Regions from separate parts of the Homo sapiens genome. Here regions 2 and 3 are each linked to region 1. The links are contacts of gene promoters, found by promoter capture Hi-C in human tissues and cell types (Jung and others, 2019). All regions are on one chromosome and are shown on one strand. The core of a region is centred on a gene start or on the middle of the fragment in contact, and the rest is flanking DNA. Distances in the headings are between cores, read along the strand shown.

Region 1 (4,569 bases), core at 940-3,439:
ATGTATTTCTCTATTCTGAGTTGACAAGCTTCCTTTGAAAACTGTACTTGGGCTATATTTTATGGGAAGCACAATCCTGACCAGTTTCTCTAAAAATTGAATGTAGAATTGACAAGCAATGTTGATAAATTTGGTTACGTTTAGATGCTCAAAAATTGAGACTAATTATTTTCTTTTTGCTTCCGAAGTAAACTAAGCCTGTTTTATTATGCATCCCAAGTGCCTATGTTGAGATTTCAAGCTTAGACTTTGTCAGTAGTTACCCATGAGCCCATTCTTTCTGTAGTTTCCTTTAAGATATATCTGCTCAAGCCAGGACCTCAAGGATGTCTGCATGCACCCCCATCTTCAGAAATGCAAGTTTTAGGATTGTATACTACATCTTTAGTGGAGCAGATTTTTTTTTTCTTTGAATGGTTGAGCTAACTGGTCTCAAAATAACTTGGCAGTATTAATTTTCATACTGAAATCATTTGGCACAGGTGCCAGGTTTTCTATGGCTTTATGTTGGTCTGGCTAGTCAATGAAATAAAGATAATTGGGTTCTCTAAGTGAAATGCAAACACTCATTCATTCTTGTTCTATTTCTAATTAAATTAGCCTTTCAGATACTGTTTATAAAAGAATCACAAGCATACCATCTAACTGGGCGTTCCTTATACTTTAAAAGAGAATAGCTTAGCATTTTTCTTTCACACTTATTGTAAGCTTTTAATTAAATATAGGTATCACTTTTTTGTTAGCAAAATTATTTCCTCTTGGTGATCATTTTGAGAGTCCTGCTTTACATAAACATGTTGGACGATTTAATACAAACTGACTTGGATTTTAACAGCTGTGCTATTCCCATAGCGGTCACTTTTCATGTGGTCTGAGTATTAAATTTCTTTTGTCCTGGAAAGGTTGCTTCATTGGTGCACGTATTTCCTTACAGTAGAAACGCAGCATTTACTTACTTGGCTACCTTCTTTATTTGCTTAGGAGATTGTCATTCTCTATTATCTGCAAACCCAACATTAATACTTTAAAATGACAAATCCAATTACATTTTCATTTCTGTGTATTTGAATTTTTCTTAATGTATATTTAGTATAATACATGTTATACAGAGTCATGTCATAGTTGTTGTTTCAAAAGATTGGGGCTAAAAATTACTTTTAAAAATTTATCCTTTGACATTCATGAAGTAATTTTTTCCTTTGGTAGTTTTCAGTATGTTTCCTCCTCCCCACCAGGATCAAGGCCATGCTTGTGTCTTGATTTAACCACAAATAGAGACAGACTGGGGAAGTAGAATAAGTTTCTGCTGAATAGTGAAGCACTTGTTCATTATCTTATTTATTAAAAACAAACAAAGCAATACATTATATACACATATATATAGAGAGAGAGAGTGCGAGCACGCACGCACGCGAGCGAGAGCTTTTTATGTAGCCTGAGGTGGGGAAGAATACAGTGCTTTGCTTCTAAAGCAGGAAAGTTGGAACATTTATCCATAAATCATTTCTTATCCTATGTGATCTTAGGTTGGCACATAACGAGGTGAATTGTTCCATCTTAGGGGAAAAATATTGAAGGATGGTGGGGAGAGGTGGGTGGTGAGGAGTCACTTTCATTCCAGTTTCTACTTATTGTCTTGCAGAACTTTCTAAACAGATGGTATTTGTCAATGAAATTTCAAAAGACCTTATTTGACGTTTATATGAGTTGCTCTTTACTTCTACAAAGAAATTCCAAGCTAACTAGAGTATTGTGGTGTTACTACCAGAGGGAAAAGTATAATTTTTAAAATCAATATTCCTGAAAGAATTTCCTGTAGTGCATTAAATTACTTTGTTATTGTTAGACTTTCACCTAAATATTTTTTGGCAGAGTATTTTTGGGTAACTTTCTATTGATATAATTTTAAGCTTAACAGAAACATTGGAAGAATAGTACAAGGAACTCCGGTATACACTTTACCCACATTCATCCATTGTTAACATTTTGCCCCACGTATATTTGCTGTCGTCCTCCAATCCCTCCTTCTTCCCTTCCCCTACCCCATTTTTTTCTTGAAATTTTGAGAGTAAGTTGGAGACATTCTGATCCTTTAAAACTGAATGCTTCAATGTGAATTCCAAAGAACAAAGACATTCTCTTACCTAAACACAATATCCTTATCAAATTCAGGCAATTTAATGTTTGCACAATACTATTTTCTAATCCACAGTCTGTGTATTCAATGTTGTTGTTTATACCAGTTAATGTTCATTATAGGTTTTTTCCTTCCAGACCAGGATCCAGTTGAGGATCAAACATTGCATTTAGTTGTCGTGTCTCTGGCTCCCTTCAATCTGGAAAAGTTACTTCATCTTTCTTTATCTTTCTTAACTTCAGTGTTTTGATATTTTGCCAGTTATTTTTGTAGAATTTCCCTCCATGTGGATTTGTCTGATGTTTCCCTATGATTCGATTCAGGTTATGAATTTTTGGTGGAAATACCAAAGAAGTGATGCTGTCTCCTCATGTCAGGAGTTATATAATATATTATATACCTTTCGGTGATGCTAGTTTTCCCTTTTCCATATTTCTGACTACCTTCTCCAACAGTGAGAAACCTGCAATCTCGGCTCACTGCAACCTCCGCCTGCCTCCCAGGTTCAAGCGATTCTCCTGCCTCAGCCCCACAAATAGCTGGGACTACAGGCACTTGCCACCATGCCTGGCTAATTTTTTGTATTTTTAGTAGAGACAGGGTTTCACTCCATTGGCCAGGCTGGTCTCTAACTGCTGACCTCGTGATCCGCCCGCCTCAGCCTCCCAAAGTGCTGAGATTACAGGCGTGAGCCACCGCATCCAGCCGTATCCTGGATATATTTACTCACTTGCTGAAGTCTAGAATAATACAGGAAGTAGTTTCAAAATTGCTAGCCCATACTACTACAGAAAATAAACCTAGAACCTTCAGTTCCTATTTGTGCATAGTTCTTTTTTTCCTAGGTAAAATTTATATATGGTGAAATGTATGAATCTTAAAACAACTCCGTAAGTTTTAACAAATGTATACACCCATGTAACCCACACTCTTCCTATCAAGATATTAGTGTTTTTCCATCACTCCAGAAAGTTCCCAGGTACCCTTTCCCAGTCAATTCTGGGGGAAGGGGAAGTATGTTGTATATTATGACTAGTCCTTCTCTAAAAGGAGTAAAGCTAGGCAGCTTCAGGTGTTCTTTGCAATAATAACCTTGTTTCTGGTACCCAGAAGTTGACCAAAACCTTTTTTCAGACCTGCAGAGTCAGGAGCAGGACTGTGCAGGAGGAGACTGCGTGCAGAGTATTCTTGCTCTTGTTGCACAATTCTATTACTCACAACCTTCTTGATAGTGCAAGAACAGCCTGTTGTGAAGAATCAGGCTCCAAACTTGGTTTGCATACCATCTGGGACCTGCGCAGATGCAGCAAGATGTGCCCAGAAACCTGATCTTGAGATTTCAGTGATTAGCAACCTTAATAATACACTCATTCTGGTGTTGACTATGCAATAGGTTCTTCTGTTGATGGGTTATGATTAAACTCCTCAAAGTGACTTGCTATTAGCTTTCTGTGTGTATCTGGGCATATATCTTGAAGAGTGATAGGGTAAGGGTTAGGTAGGAATAATAAATGTCAGCTGGTAAATCGTACTTTGTTTTGGCCTTGGTTATAGCCAGCCTGTCCATTTATTTTTTTGATATTATATAATCCTACCTACCTTCTATCATGTTTTCTTGTTACTTATGAAGCATGAAAGGCTAGGCATGGTGGCTCACACCTGTAATCCCAGCACTTTGTGGGGGCTGAGGTGGGCAGATCACCTGAGCCTAAGAGTTTGAGACCAGCCTGGGTAACATGGTGAAATCCTGCCTCTACAAAGAATACAAAAATTGGCCAGGTGTGGTGGCCTATGCCTGTAGTCCCAGCTACTTGGGGGGCTGAGGTGGGAAGATCCTTGAGCCCAGAGGTTGAGATCATGCCATGGCACTATAGCCTGGGCGACAGAGCAAGACTCTGTCATGCCCATGCCCCAAAACCCCCGCCAGAAAGAAGCATGAAATAACAAAAAGTCAACTTAGCTGCTTAAATAGTGTTTTTGTTTGTTTGTTTGTTTGTTTGTTTGTTTTGGGACGGAGTCTTGCTCACTTGCGAGGCTGGAGTGCAGTGGCGTGATCTCAGCTCATTGCAGCCTCCGCCTCCTGGGTTCAAGTGATTCTCCTGCCTCAGCCTCCTGGGGAGCTGGGACTACAGGCGTGCGCCACCACACCCAGCTAATTTTTGTATTTTCAGTAGAGACGGGGTTTCACCATGTTGGCCAGGTTGGTCTCAATCTCTTGACCTTGTAATCTGCCCACCTCGACCTCCCAAAGTGCTGGGATTACAGGCGTGAGCCACTGCGCTCAGCCAGCTACTTAAATGTTTAAGAGAAACCTCTGTCCCAAAGCAACTTGTCACCTAAGGACTTTGCAAATGCACCACTTAGAAAGGCAAATCATAGATTTGAAAGGAATGGTTAAACTGTTATCTGTTAGCAGACATTCATTTAATTCA
Region 2 (4,569 bases), core at 836-3,335, 1.2 Mb after region 1:
GCTGAATTTTAAAAATAAGTGGCATGGGCTGGGCGCGGTGGCTCTCGCCCGTAATCCCAGCACTTTGGGAGGCCGAGGCGGGTGGATTGCCTGAGCTCAGAAGTTCGAGACCAGCCTGGGCAACAGGGTGAAACCCCGTCGCTACTAAAACACAAAAAATCAGCTGGGCGTGGCAGCGTGCGCCTGTATAATCCCAGCTACTCCGGAGGCTGAGACAGGAGAATCGCTTGAACACGGGAGGTGGAGGTTGCAGTGAGCCAAGAGCATGCCACTGCACTCCAGCCTGGGTGACAGAGCAAGACTCCGTCTCAAAAAAAAAAAAAAAAAAGACGTGTAATTTTTATGAGCATGAATTGCATGGATCAAATGTGTTATGAGTTAAAATGCAATATTCAAGACACTGAAAACAAAATTTCCAGTATACTTCCAAATTCCTGAGAAAAATTTCAAAAGTTCTAAATAATTGGAAGTATATACCATGCTCATTCATTGGAAGACTCAATATTTTTATAGCAAAGTAAAAAAAGAACATACAGCTATACATACATAACATGGAAAGATCTCACAGATAAAATGTTGGTCAAAAGAAGGCAGACAAAAGCGTAGGTACTGAATTATTATTTATATGAAAGTCAAGAACAGTTAAACTAATTTATAGTGATAGAGATGAACCCAAGCAATGACCTTTGTAAAGTATTGCCTGGGAAGGACCATAAGGAAGCCCTTCTGGGGTGTCGATAATATCCAGCCCCCACCCACCCCCTGCAGCCTCGACTGCAGTGAACTATGCTCAAAGGATCCTTCCGGCTCAACCTCTCCTTACTCCAGCATTTTGAAGTTTAGTCGAGCATGGTGTCGCGCACCTGTATTCCCAGCTGCTGGGGAGGTTAAGGCAGAGGACTGCTTGAACTATGATGGCGCCACTGCACTCCAGCCTGGGCGACAGAGCAAGACCCTGCCTCAAAACAAAACAAAAAATTCTTTATTTTGATCTGGGTGGTAGTTTCATGAGTGTATGCATGTGCAAAAATTCATAGAATGTGTTTGGTGCACTTATATTGTGCATGTTATGTATCTCGAGTTTTTAAGCAATGAGAAACCATTGTAAGATTAAAAGGTGAATGACATGATCCGATTTATGTTTTAAAAATAGATTTTTACCAGGAACGGAAGCCAGAAGACCAGTTAAAAGGCTATCGCATGGCTGGCCAGGCGTGCACGCCTGTAATTCCAGCTACGTGGAAGGCTGAGAGGCAGGAGAATCGCTTGAACCCGGGAGGCGGAGGTTGCAGTGAGCCGAGATCGCCCCACTGCACTCCAGCCTGGGCAACAAGAGAGAAACTCCGTCTCAAAAAAATAAAAAATAAAATAATAATAATTAAAAAAAAAGGTATCGCATGGTGCTAGGTAGAAGGGACGGTGGAAAGGGGGCAGAAGAGGACGCATTGGACAGAGGTGTGGGAGCAGAATCTGCAGGGTATAGAGAGCTAGAGGGAAGTGTCAAAAATAACTTTTGGGGTTTCCACCATAGGAAATGGAAGACGAGCAGCACAAGACTGGCAGGAAAGAAAATGAAGACTAAAACTTGTGGAAGTAGAGATTTGGGGAAAGAGCAGTTGGGAGAGAGCTAAGGAATTTCCTTAAGTGGGAGGCGAGGTCCGGCGGGAACAGTTGAGGCAGGGCCTGAGAAGGGTGCCCAGTGAGTGCGAGTATGAATGGATAGGGGCATCCGGGATTAAGAGGAGAGGCTGGAGTTTCCCCAGGAGTGGTGAAGTGCCTCGAAGGAGGCGGGAGATCCCTAAGGAATACTCTTGGCGATCGGGGCAGAATCGCAGGCACTAACAGTAGGCATCGGGATAAGACTGGCAGGACTAAGATGCCAGCCAGGCTCCGCCCCGGAGGCTTGGAAGTGCGGGACACCGAGAGCAGGGATGCCGGGACAGCCGGCCCGATCCCCGGTGCGGAACCAATTGTGACGACGGCTAGGTTACCCGCCGGCGCTACAAAGGTGCCACACCGGAGGGGCGGCGTGCGCCGGCGTGCGCCGGCGTGACGCGGCTACGCGGGATGGGCCGGGCCAGGGCCAAGGCCGAGGCGGCAGCGGCTGCGAGAGGCGGCGGCACGACGACGGTCCCTCAGCCCAGCCACCATGAGCACCAAGCAGATCACTTGCAGGTCAGTGCGCTGGAGCCAGGAGCTTCGGGCCGCTCCCCCAGGCCGCAGGGGGGCCGGTGCGCGCCAGTGCTGTGGTCCGGGAACCTGAGGCTAGAGCGGGACTCGGAAAGTTACTCGGCTGTTCGCGGCGGGGCTTTGCGAGGCAGAGCGAGCGCTGCCGCCACAGCCGGGGATCCGGGGGATGCGTGGCCGAGACGCTGGGCGAGGCCAGCGCGGGGGGCTACGCCCCGAGTTTGAAGCGTGGCCCCTGTGGGCTGGGAGGAAGGACGTCCTAGCCAGGGCCGTGCAGGATGCCGGGGCGCTGTCGGGAAGGCTCTGGGGCTTACGCTTTAACTGGAAAAGATTTGAAGTTGAGTAAAGGGACGCCGAGAGGACGGTTACAAATGGGGATACCACATAGGAGTAATTTGTTAATCGATTATGAGGGCCTCAAAGTTTGGAGAATCCAGATGCAATCTAAACTTGCAGAGAGTTAACAAGTAAAAGTTGTTGTGTGGAAAATAACGACAGGTAGCATATTGTGAATATCGGCGAAGCGCCCTGCATATTTCCAAGTCCTTTATATTCATTATCATCAGACTTCACAGTAAGACAACTTAGTAGTTATTATTACCATTTTACAGTGCAGGAAACTGAGACCGAAAGACGTTGACACTCATTTATCTTACTGAGAGAGCCATTTACGAGGAGAAATGCGACGGTAATGGATGGTTTATTGTAGAAAATAGCCAGATAGCTACACTACGACTGCTCCTATGAAATAGAATAGTGTGGTTGTGTAACACCCTCATTGCTTGGTCAGCTTGTGGCTTACTGGTAATGGAGTCTAGTCCTATTGAATTGTATGTTTGGAAAACGCAAATTGAATTGTATGCTTGGAAAATGCAAATTTCATTTAATAATTTTTATGGGAAACATTGCTTAAAAACAGTTATAGAGTTTGTGTAATAAACAGTTTATTTTCTATGTTGTTACTTCTCTTCATTGGTATGAATAGTTGAGACGTGACTGTGTAGTAAGTTTTCTGTTAGCATTAGTGTACATTTACTGTTCAATTTATCCAAGGCCCAGGTGGCTTATGTTAAGCTGTTGTCAGAAATTTGCACCTAGTGTCTATAAAAAGACTTTTACTAGGTTATTTGTACTAGAAGGTGTTTTGTGAAGACGGGTTTGTGTGTGTTTACGTATTTTTATTTGTATAAAGTTTCTCCTGCTGGAGGAAGTATTCCTAGGTCATTGTGCACTGTAAAGCAGCTTGTAGCCTCCTAGAAAAACCTCTGTATTCCTCCCCTCGCTCTATGGTTTAATTCTACCATTTATTCCCGTACCTCATCTAAGAAGTGTCCACAAAACAGTACACATTTATGTAATAATGCTTTATAATTGAATCTCAACTCTGTAGTATCTTATTTTACAAATAAGGAATCTTATGCTCAGAAAGACTTGAAATTTGCCTAAAATTTTACACCTTAGTAGAGGCACAAGGACCTAAATCAGGATCATCTTGGTTTTTTCCTTGTATACCTGGAGATAGCTTGACTTGAAAGCTTTAATTCTGTTTCCCAAACAGGGGTGTTCTGTAGGATGTTGCTCCATATAAATGAAGATTGGGTTGGAATGTTGAGAAGGGATCACTTCTGTTTAAGTGTTTAGTCATGTTTGTTGGGGACTTACAATGTGCTGCGGCTCTTAGGTACTGTAGTGTATAATCCAGCAACCAGCGCTCTTCCACAGATCGTAAAACTGAGCCTCAGCATTGAAGCGACTTGCCTAAGGTCATTTAGCTTCCAAGTGACAGAGGTGTGAAATCAAAGTTCATGCCCTCATAGACTGTAGGGCCTCCAGATAAGTTTTGAAATGCTAAATTAAAATTTATTTATTGCAGGACTTATCAAAGCTTTTAATGTGTTCCCATGAAAGGAAACTCATACAAGGATATGTAAAACTGCAAAGAAGTTTACTCACAAAAGGGTGTAAAGGAGTCAGGGCTCCCGATGACTGCCTTGCCAAATAAAAAACATAACAGGTGTTTTAAGTGGGAAAAAACCAATATGACCAAGAGTACCAAGTTTACATTAGTGTGTTTATCTACCATCAACTTTTCTACCAGCTTATCTACCAAAAGCTTTTCTCACTTTATTATCTCATTAACAAAAGCCTTGTCTCTAGACATTGATAATTTATAGGAAATGTTCAAGGTATGATTTATTTTGGGGACCAGATCTAAGCAGCGTGTGCGGTTTTTTGTGGGTTTTGTTTGTTTTTTTGTTTTTTTTAATCTCAGGTCACAAAGTTTTAGGTTTGTTTTCCTGACTGTGGGATGTGATGTACATGTTTATTTTGAATGACAGCAGAATAATGTCAGTTTTGCTTCCAATCTGTTAGATATTATGT
Region 3 (4,569 bases), core at 885-3,384, 1.1 Mb after region 1:
CCCAACCTCAGGTGATCCACCCGCCTCAGCCTCCCAAAGTGCTGGGATTACAGGCATGAGCCACCGTGCCCGGCCAGAAGTGATGATTTATTGGACTGTTTTCTCTACTTTTGTGTTGTATGTTTGAAAATAACCATATCAAAGGGTTTAAAATGCACTTGAGAAAGTCTTGGGGAAAATTTCTTTCTTTTTTAAAATTTACAGATTTTTTTTCTTTTTTTAATTTCTTTTTTTATGTTTTTGGGAGGGGAATTTGAGATCCCATTATCAGCAAACCCCAAATCCTTCCACGAGCTGGGATGGGATTTAAGAGACCTGGCTCTAGTCTCAGCCCCACCTCAGACCTGCTCGGTTATCTCTGACAACTCACAGTGCCACTGGAACTGTTTTCTTATCAGTTAAATAAGGAAGTTTAACTGGACAACCTCTGAATCCCTTTCATTGTTAAAGCCCTCTAATTCTAAAACCAGTATTTCTTAAATTGGCATGTTCTGGTCGGATATTACAGCCTCTCTTCAGCTGTCTCTCCCCTGCCCAATCCATCCTGTTACCATATCCTGTGACTCTTGCCAATTTTCTCCCTTTCTTTTGCAACATTCTTACCACAAAGCTCTTTGATTTTGGTTTATCTAAAACCTGAACTCCCTAGCCTAGCAGTGAAGGTCCTTGCAGCAGAGGACCCACTGAATGCTGCGACATGATCTCACTCTACCAAGAGCAAGCCCACAGTGCAGTTCAAAAAGGGCCAGGCAGGATGCAGTGGCTCAAGCCTGTAATCCCAGCACTTTGGGAGGCCGAGGCGGGAGGATCGCTTGAGGTCAGGAGTTTGAGACCAGCCTGGCCAACGTGGTGAAACCCCGTTTCTACTAAAAATATAACAATCAGCCGGGCGTGGTGGCAGGCGCCTGTAATCCGAGCTACTCGGGAGGCTGAGGCAGGAGAATCACCTGAACCTGGGAGGCAGAGATTGCAGTGAGGTAAGTGAGCTGAGATGGTGCCACTGCATTCCAGCCTGGGCGACAGAGCCAGGCTCCGTCTCAAAAAATAAAAAGGGCCAGAAAAACAGGGACAACACATGCCATGCCAGACTACTGCAGAGCACAGAGGCAAGTCACCCAAGCAGGTCTGGGAAGGCAAGAAGTCTCCTGGAAGAGGTGATATTTGAGCTGAGACCTAAAGGCTGACCAGGAATTACTGCAGCTAACAGAGGGGAGGGAACATAGAGGCAACAGCATGCGTGAAGGAATGGAGGCAAGAACATTGGCAGAAGTCCAAAATTCAACATCCATCATCACATCTAGCACCATGAATCTCTCCAGCAGTATTTGCCACACTTCCTTGCCATCCTCCTTTGCCTCCTGCTTAGTCTGTGTGGTGGAACTCCTGTGATTCATATTTGGGAAAGTATATATTGGACTCCCCACAGGGCTCCTTTAAAATAACCAGGTCAGGAGAAACTTACACTTCCTATTGCACTCCAGTTTTGCTCATCTCCCGTAATTCTGATGGCCCATTTTTCAGTAAACTCAAGCTCAGAAAGGTTGTCAGTCATTCAAGCTCACGCAGCCAGTGAGGGGGGAAAATGGGGATGCAGAGCAGGTGGACCTGCCGCCTATTGTCCCTTAACTGCACAGGCAGTCTGGGCACACAGAGGCTTCTGGCCAGGTGTCTGCCAGAGAAAACGTCCTTGCAAGTTCCCCGCATGCTGCAGCGTACACAGGTGCGCTGCTGTGATCCTCTTTCTACATTGAGAAAGATGAGATCAGTTTCCTCAGGGCCATTTAATAAAGTCCTGTCGGTCGCCTCAAACATCCCATCCACCGAGGGCCGAAGATTCTAGGTCTCTCCCACCTCCCACGTGACTATGTGACATTTGACGGGTAACTGCATCTCATCTGTAAAATGCGTCTTGCAGGATCGTTCTGGCTTCCGTACAATCCTGCAGAGAGCAGCAAAGCGCGCACGCAGCCTCCGCCTCATACTCCGCAGTGGCAGAGCTGGCGCACAGAACACCCGCCAGCCGGCCGTGCGCAGGCGCACTCCGCCAAGTCCCGACGGGAGCTCTGCGGCTGCGCACTCGGCTGGCTTTGCGGCCGCACTGCTTGACGGCAGCGGTGTCCGCCCCACGGCCGGCGTTGCCGGGGTAACGGCGAGCGCGTGGGGCCAAGAAAGGTAAGGGCCCTGGGCGAGGAAAGCGCGGCCCTTTCCGAGTTTGGTGTTTTGCAGCGAAAGGAAATCTCGCTCTTCCGAAAGTCCTCCAGGGCGAGAGAGGAAAGGGCCTAGGTACTGTGCTGGGGTCGCACAGCCGGCCGAGACAGTGCCGGGACGGGGAGCCAGGCTTCCGAGTGCGCCCGGTCACTGACTCCTCCGCGCTTTCCTCGTGCGCCTGCAGCCCTTGGTTCTTGGAAACGCCGGCGCCTTGTTCAGGGCTGGTGGGGCTGGGGCGCAAGGTGCAGCTGACAATGCCCGAGAGGAGCCGCAGCCTCTGGTGGAGTTCGGTCGGGTGTGGGGGTAGTCAAGGAAAGAAGCAAAGGGGTAAGACAGGGAGTTAGGAATTGGCGGGGCCCCTAACGCTGTTGGGGTGCGCAGTTTATTTTATTTGCAGCTGTCGTCTGGTGAGCGCTTTCCACGTGGTAGGCCCCGAACGAAACGCCTTCTGCAAAATTATGCATTTAATCCTGACAACAACTTTCAAAGGCTGGTCATCTGTTTATATGGCTTATTCTCAGGTTCTAACTTGAAAGCTCCCCAGAGGCAGGATTGTTTACCTTGTGCCTTTCATCCTTGCCTCCCTAAGCCCAGGAGGTGCGCAGATGGAGCTTGAAGCGTGTTTTGGTTGGGAGAAGGTGAGATTTGCTGGGTAGGAGGTTTTTTAACCAGGTTTGTTTGGCACCTAGTCCAGGAAGGTTGGAAAATTAAATGGAGCCACCTCTCCCTTTTTTGTTTTTCTAATAGACATTTACCATCACCTAAGAGGTGTTAGCCTGTGTGCTCGAGGGAAGAATAAGAAACAGACTCTGCTTTTAATAGAAAGTAAGAATATGCAGCTCTGGAGTCAGGTTGCGCAGGTTGGGGAAATAAGAAGTAAAGATTTCTCAGGGGTGCGCCCGGCCCCTCCGAGTCACTTTCCACATCTGTACAATGGAAATAAAAATAGTCTTTACCTCCGGGGGCTACTGGGATTAAGTGAATTTGAATAGACCTTGCTGTTACCAGTGGTTAGCTATATGTTAAAATCAGCTGGGTCCACCCAGGAAATTCTGATGTAATTGATTGCAGGTGAGGCCTGGGCATGAGGAGTTAAGGGTAGGTAAGCTTGAGGGCCACTGTGTGATGTACCACTCCCAGGTTTAATTTTCTTAATCTGCATTTTTCAATCATCATTCTAAATAACCTGCAGTGACTCCAATTCCAAACCAACCTTTGCATCCCAAACCTCTTGACAACTGACCCAGTCTTTCCTATATGTTTTTGTGCACCTCAGGCACCGCTCTTCTTTCATATCTGTGGAATGAGGATAGTACAGTCAGCTCTCGCTATCAGGTTCCGAATCTGTGGATTCAACCAATGTTGCATCAAAAATATTTGGAAAAAGAAATTTAAAAATATATATATATAACAATTATTTAGTATTTACATTGTATTAGGTATTCTAAGTAATCTAGAGAAGACTTAAAGTAGATGGGAGGATGGGCATAAGTTACATGCAAATACTACATTTTATTTAAGGGACTTGAGCTGCGGATTTTGGTAGGGGGTGAGTCCTGGAACCAGTCCTTCTGTGGATACCAAGGGATGACTATAGTACCCACATGTGCAGCACATGCAGTGAGTGCCTCTGGCATCTGGTACCTACCTATGACAGTTTCCTCTTCTTATTTTACTCACATCCCACCTCTTACAGCATGCTGTTCTGCCGCGACACTAAAGAACCTTCTTGAATATCCATTGCAGATATGGGGAATGGTAAATGCAGTCTTTTCTCCTCTGCTTTGCCTTTCGAGTTCAGCACAGGAGGACTCTTCCATGAAACTAGAGATCATCTGATTTGTCCTCTTGAATTTTTCCCCCTGGGGAAGTGAGCTCTACCTTCCCTGAGGGTTTCTTTCTATCTTTTCTAGAAGCTTCACGCTGGTATCTGTGAAGTCATTCTTGCAGGACATGGCCTGGGGAATGTCTTTACTTCTGAATTTTTTAAAATAGCTTTATTGAGATACCATATAATTCTGTAAAAGTCACCCTTCTGAAATGTACGAGTCAGTGGTCTTCGTATTCGCGGAGTTATGTAACCATTACCATCACTACAATCTAATTTTAAAACATTTTCGTCACCCTCCAAAATAAACCTCCTGTCTTATTAGCAGTCGCCCCCCCATTTCCCACTTTTCCCTGTCTCTGGCAACTGGTAATCTGTCTCTATGGATTTGTCTATTCCGGAAACTTTATCTTAATTGTCTCGTGGTCTTTTGTGTCTGACTTCTTTTAGCATAATGCTTTCAGGTGTTGAAGAATGTATCCGAACTTCATTCCTTTTCTATGGCTAAGTATTTGATTATATGGATAGACCAC

What was found. The method cuts DNA at HindIII sites, captures the fragments that hold promoters and counts their contacts. A contact is called where the count stands out against the background at its distance.
Region 2: the fragment with the promoter of MKRN2 here is called in contact with a fragment that was not itself captured in region 1 in 1 of the 25 tissues and cell types used here (aorta).
Region 3: a contact is called between the fragment with the promoter of TSEN2 here and a fragment that was not itself captured in region 1, in 1 of the 25 tissues and cell types used here (dorsolateral prefrontal cortex).

What each region holds. Positions count from the first base shown.
Region 1 is chr3:11,380,904-11,385,472 of GRCh38, forward strand. The region is part of intron 19 of ATG7 (autophagy related 7); the gene reads left to right. Among named protein-coding and RNA genes, the nearest start is that of ATG7, 110 kb to the left of the region's middle. The HindIII fragment of the contact is 5,508 bases long and covers 1-4,569 here.
Region 2 is chr3:12,555,002-12,559,570 of GRCh38, forward strand. MKRN2 (makorin ring finger protein 2) reads left to right here and starts at 2,086. Exons shown (of 8, transcript NM_014160.5): 1 at 2,086-2,175. The coding sequence starts at 2,150. It also overlaps a transcript of MKRN2OS not described here. RefSeq lists enhancers at 1,706-1,815, 1,866-1,925, 2,313-2,836, 2,746-2,805 and a silencer at 2,096-2,185. The HindIII fragment of the contact is 5,756 bases long and covers 1-3,897 here.
Region 3 is chr3:12,482,346-12,486,914 of GRCh38, forward strand. TSEN2 (tRNA splicing endonuclease subunit 2) reads left to right here and starts at 2,135. Exons shown (of 12, transcript NM_025265.4): 1 at 2,135-2,535. RefSeq lists an enhancer at 2,059-2,478. The HindIII fragment of the contact is 10,904 bases long and covers 1-3,719 here.